Regions from separate parts of the Homo sapiens genome. Here region 2 is linked to region 1. Evidence: promoter capture Hi-C in 16 types of primary human blood cells and fetal thymus (Javierre and others, 2016). All regions are on one chromosome and are shown on one strand. Each heading gives the region's core, a stretch centred on a gene start or on the middle of the fragment in contact. The rest is flanking DNA. Distances are from core to core; before and after follow the strand shown.

The links. Contacts are between HindIII fragments. The CHiCAGO score rates a contact against its expected background, and 5 or more counts as called.
Region 2: the fragment with the promoter of NAXD here is called in contact with a fragment that was not itself captured in region 1 in 1 of 17 cell types (naive CD8 T cells); the score reaches 5.7 in naive CD8 T cells.

The regions. Positions count from the first base shown.
Region 1 is chr13:112,583,578-112,586,525 of GRCh38, reverse strand. All of the region lies in intron 1 of TUBGCP3 (tubulin gamma complex component 3), which reads left to right. Among named protein-coding and RNA genes, the nearest start is that of TUBGCP3, 3.1 kb to the left of the region's middle. The HindIII fragment of the contact is 1,631 bases long and covers 642-2,272 here.
Region 2 is chr13:110,614,174-110,617,121 of GRCh38, reverse strand. It overlaps NAXD (NAD(P)HX dehydratase), which reads right to left and starts at 1,577. Exons shown (of 10, transcript NM_001242882.2): 1 at 1,475-1,577. The coding sequence starts at 1,520. NAXD-AS1 (NAXD antisense RNA 1) reads left to right here and starts at 769. Exons shown (of 1, transcript NR_182301.1): 1 at 769-2,948. RefSeq lists enhancers at 548-597, 618-667, 1,569-2,496 and silencers at 948-1,107, 1,118-1,367. The HindIII fragment of the contact is 4,814 bases long and covers 1-2,948 here.

The DNA of each region.
Region 1 (2,948 bases), core at 208-2,707:
TGAGGTATGAGCATGGCCTGCCATCGTTTGTTTTTGTCATTAGCAGACTGAGTTTCCTTTCACATGTTTCATGTTCCTCGTCATAGGGGGAATCAGATAAAACTAAGATTGTTAGGACTTACCCACCTTAATGTCAGTGTTTTCCTTATACCAGTGGTTCCAGAGTTTTTTTTTCTAGGGATAAACCACACATTCATACATTCCCATTGTTATAATTGGATTTTGAAATTCATTCATCATGAGCTAGAATGATATTTCTCAACCTAAGAACTTTTTTTTTTTTTTGAGACAGAGTCTCACTCTGGTCGCCCAGGCTGGAGTGCAGTGGTGTGATCTCGGCTCACTGCCAAGCTCTACCTTCCGGGTTCATGCCATTCTCCTGCCTCAGCCTCCCGAGTAGCTGGGACTACAGGCGCCCGCCACCACGCCTGGCTCATTTTTTGTATTTTTAGTAGAGACGGGGTTTCACTGTGTTAGCCAGGATGGTTTCGATCTCCTGACCTCGTGATGCACCCGCCTCGGCCTCCCGAAGTGCTGGGATTAGAGGTGTGAGCCACCGCGCCCAGCCAAAAACTTTTTTTTTTTTACATTGAAGATTCTTTGATATAAAAGTTTTGTCCCTTCTAAGAGACTGAAAAGCTTCTTTTCAGCAAAATTCTGTATCCTACTATCTTCCCATTTAGAACTGTGTCTAAAAGTGGGCTCTCAGATCCTGACAGGGTCCTCTCTGAATAAATAATTTATTTATTTATTTATTTGAGATGGAGTCTTGCTCTGTCACCTAGGCTGGAGTGCAGTGGCATGATCTGGGCTCACTGCAACCTCTGCCTCCTTCAAGTGATTCTCCTGCATCAGCCCCCCAAGTAGTTGGGATTACAGGTGTATGCCAGCACTCCTGGCTAATTTTTGTGTTTTTAGTAGAGATGGGGTTTCACCATGTGGCCAGGCTGGTCTCCAACTCCTGACCTCAAGTGATCTGCACCCCACCCCCCTGCCGCTTGGCCTCCCAAAGTGCTGGGATTACAGGCACGAGCCACTGCGCCCGGCCCTCTCTGAATAAATTATGTCATGAAGTCCATTAAAGGTGATGCTCTTTTTGCTATGTTCTAGATAGCTAGGATTGTCAAGCATTTATGATATAATTTTAAATTATGCTGCTATTTACTGAAGAATTTATAAATAGTAGCTTACCTTGTTCTTTCATTTGTTATACCTTAGTGAGCAAAGGAGCAATATTAATTACTACCTTTACAATATTTGGTGTTAAAAATTTGATTAGTGAGCATTTTATCTGGTAACTCCATAGAATATTTGATTAATTACCTTATTCTTTGATGACATATTACAATTGGCCTTATGCTTTTGTAATACATTTTTTTTAGTACTATGAAATCAAGGCATAATAGGTACTTGTTACTTTTAATGAGAATTTCATATGAATCACATTTTTATAAGGTATCTTTTAAAAAATTATACAGTTGACTTCAAGGGACCTTCAGAAGCAAAGCACCTACATATAATGGTGCTTGACAGTTTTACAAAGTTAGCATGACCATGATTTACCACCTTTTCCAACTTATAACATCTGTGAATTTGCTTGAAACACATACTGCCAGCCAGTCATAGTCAAATCCTGTCTCCATATCCCTGCCCCTCCTGGGAGCACATTTATTTATTATGTCTTTGCGTAATTATTCTTATCATTGGAAACAGTGTGCTTGATGTTAATGTTCAAATCTGTCAGAGGTAACACTTCTTTTCATAGCTACTTTGTAATCCTTTTTCTAACTATGAGGTAAAGAATACATAAAGAGGAATTTATATTAGATAAGTATTTCATCATAAATGTTCAGGTATGACTACAGTACACAGCATATTCGAAGATGATTGCCATAATATGCAAGACCTCTATGAGTGTCCTACAAGCCACTATCAGAAGATAAAGGATTATTGTTTTGGTGATTCAGTACCACAAGTGGTGTTGCTATTGGTTTCATGATTTTCCAAAATGGTAAAGAGCTTTTGATGAAGTTCCAAATACCATGTGATCTTCCTTTGGTTATATAATTACATTCTTGGGAAGATCAATGTGTATTACATGTATATTAAGATATACATTAGATGTGTATTAAAACTTCAGAGTTTCAGGCTTTGTTTCAAGTTGTACTTGATGGATTTACTATTTTTCAATAAGTTAAAATTTAAAAATTGTTTTGGCTTAAATTTCTAATATGGTAACTGTGGATAGATATAACCTACATAAACAAAAGCTTTTTGGAGTTCTCAATCGTAATAGTGTAAAGAAGCCCTGAGACCAAAGAGTTTGAGAACCACGCATCTAGAGTAATGTTTTTGTTGTTTTAGAGCATTGCTTTTCAACTAGAGCCATGCATTGGAATCGCCTGTGATTTCACAAGAACCTGATAACGTTGATTGCCTGTGGGAAGGGGAGCTGGTGGCCAGTGGTTGAGAACAGGACTTTTTATGGTATCTAACTTCATGCCTTTTCATTTTAAACTCTCTAAATGTGGGACTTACTCAGAATTAATATTGTGGGCTTCATCTCTAGGGCTTCTGATCCTGTAGGTGTCTGTTGGAGCTTGGCATCCGAAACATTAAAATGCGTGATAAGTTACTCTGACTTGCATCTGGAGTCAAGGGTGGCTAGTGTATGTGCTCTGTTCCTCTACTAAGCACTGTGGCTTACTCCCAACGCCCTCCTGACCCCTCCCCCATCCTTCAGAAAAGCAGAAGTGTGGAACATATAGTCCACGCTGTCGACAAGAAACAGGAAGGCAGAAACTTGGGTCTCCCCAAACAGTTCAACTTTTCCGCAGTTGTTTTTTGAATCTTGAGAAACACACAACTGTGGAGTTTCTGTATTCACTTGAGTCGAATTTATTTTTGTGCATCTTGAAGTTCAGTTGTCATCTTTAACCTGAGTGTAT
Region 2 (2,948 bases), core at 328-2,827, 2.0 Mb after region 1:
CTGGCTTTTCGTAAAAGTTTAGGCAGTCTGATAATAAATCCTCAACCAAGCGCAATGAAAAATCTTGCTACTAATCACGGTGTGTGAATTTAAGGTAAAGAGCTACAAATAAATCTCTAAATAAAGTGTTAAGAAGCCTCCCTGCTGGTGTGAGTGAGGTGCAGTGTAGAGTACCCTCTCAGCGCCACCCAGTGCATTCTCAGTGTGTGCTGATGAAAACAAAAAGCCAAACTCTCTGACGATGCCCAACATACACACAAGGTAAAATCTATCTAATGACTACAGCAACAAATGGTGCGTTTAACCATTTCGGCCACTCACTGGCTGGAGAATCCTGGCTAAGTCACTTTCTCTGAGCTTCTATTTATCTTCTATACCAAGGTGGATAACAGCAATCTCTCCTTATGAGAAATGAGATATACACGAACTACTTCCTGTATAAAATATGTTAGATACACCAATACCAACAAGGCAAACAGAAAGACAAAAAAACCCTATGAAGAGATGGGGCTCCAAGCACTTGCTCAGCTCCTGTTTAAATTCTTTCTACCTTATCCGTTCTATTTGAAAAGGCATCTCAGCGTGCAAGGACCAGCCAAGGCCAGGGCAGGGCCCTCGGGGACATCTGGCCAGCACTTCAGGTTCTGGGGATGACTCAGGTGAGCCTCCCTCCCCAAGGGACCTCCTACACGCACACACACACCCCGAACCGGGGGCGGGCGAAGGAGGCCTGGCTGGTGGAGTCCTTTTCTGCGGCCCAGGCGTCGCAATATCCAGTCCCTCTCGTCCAAGGACGTGCAGGGTCTGTACTTGCCCAGTCGCACTGGGACTTCAAATTGGGGATGCAGACACGGCCCTGCTCCTGGTGTGCGCGAAGCCCGCTCAGCCGGCCAGCTCGCCTGCACGCCCGCCGCGTCCCTGGGCCCCAGGAGGGCCCCCGTATCCAGCTCCGACCAAACAGCAAGCCCGCAGTTGGCGAGCATCTTTCCCAGACCGGGAGCGGGGACAGAGCAGAGCAGACGGATCCGACCAGCGCACCACGGCGCCCCAGGGCCCTCCTACCGTCCTCGGCCCTCGGCCCCCCGTTCCCCGGCCACCGCGCGGGCTCCGCCGCTCCTGGGACGCGCACTGGCTCCGGCCCGGCGCCACCCTCTGCCCCTCTGTCACCCCGCACGGAGGCTCCCATCACCCAAGCCGCGCCCAGCCGTCGCCGCGCCGTTCCAGGAGGCCTCCGTCCTCTCCCTACTCCGCCCCGCAGGCCACACGGCGCCCCGGCCCCGCGCGCGGGCTGCCCCTCGGCGGCGCTTCCCCCCCGCGAGCCAGCAGAGGCGGTCAGCGGTCGGGTACCTGCGTCCAGTGGCGGCCCGTACAGCGCGAGTGCGGCCGAGAGCAATGCGACAACGACCGCGCCGGCGACGGCAGTTCCGGCCCCCGCGCGTGTGACCATCCCCGGGCCAAATGGAATCGACCTTACCTCGTCTGCAAGCCCGGATTGCCCCACAGCGAGGACCCAGGGCCATCGGGCAGCATTCCGGATTCCCAGCTGCCCCCGCGCCGTCGCCGGAAACACAGCCATTGGAAGCGTTTTCCGGTTTCCCGACCGCCTCCGCGCGGCTGTCGGCAGTGGGATCCCAACTCGCTCAATCACACCCGGTTCTAGATGATTGACAAGCGCGACGCCCAACCCGGCCTGGTCCCAGCTCTGGCCTAAGAGGTTCGGCTGGAAGGCAGGTTGAAGAGTTAACAACGATCTGGTTCAGGGTCTGGTTTGTGTTTATCGGCCCATTTTTAGGCTTGCGGCGTTATAGAAAATGATTTTGCTGGCAGGTGGAGTGCCGAGGCCCACTATGTGCCCCCAGTATAGCAGTCAGGTGCCTTTCTGCTCCAGGCGCAACCTCTGCCCTGAACCCCAAACCAGCTCGCTGCGAGGCCCCTTCGCTTTCCACCGTCTCAGGTCAGGGCAGCTCCATCACTCCAACGCTGAGGCCCAAACCCCTGGAAGGCATTCTGACCTCTCCTGCCCTCCCACCCACGCTCCTCCTGTGGCTGATGGCCTCTTACCTCCACTGCCGCCCTATTTGAAGCCACCGTCATGGTGCTAAAAGAAACTTGTGGGGCCAGGTGCGGTGGCTCGCGCGTGTGATCCCAATGCTTTGGGAGGCCAAGATGGAAGGATCGTTTGAGCCCAGGAGTTTGAGACCAGCCTGGACAACATAAGGAGACCCCCTTCTCTACCAAAATTTTTTTGGAAAATTAGCAGGGGATGGTGTGGCACACCTGTAGTCCAGCTACTTGAGAGGCTGAGGTGAAAGGATGGCTCAACATGTCAGAGGCCTTTTAACCAGAGCGATTCCATCTTGAATAGGGACTGGGTAAAATGAGGGTGAGACCTACTGGGCTGCATTCCCAGGGGGTTAGACATTCTTGGCCACAGGATGAGGTGGTGGGCACAAGATACAGGTCACAAAGACCGCACTGATAAGATGACACAGTAAAGAAACTGGCCCAAAGCCTACCAAAACCAAGATGGCCACAAAAGTGACCTCTGTGTCCTCATTGCTCATTATTTGCTGATTATAACGTATTAGCATGCTAAAGGACACTCCTACCAGCGCCATGAGAGTTTACAAATGCTATGGCAACATCAGGAAATTACTCTATATGGTCTAAAAAGGGGAGGAACCCTCAGTTCCAGCAATTGCCAACCTCTTTCCCAGAAAACTCATGAATAATCCCCTCCTTATTTAGCCTATAATCAAGAGATAACTATAACTATGTGTGGAGTTAGTTCCTGCCGGTGGGTTCATGGTCTCACTGACTTCAAGAATGAAGCTGCGGACCTTCACAGTGTTACAGCTCTTAAAGGTGGCATAGACCCAAAGAGTGAGCAGCAGCAAGATTTATTATGAAGAGGCCGGGCGTGGTGGCTCATGCCTGTAAGCCCAGCA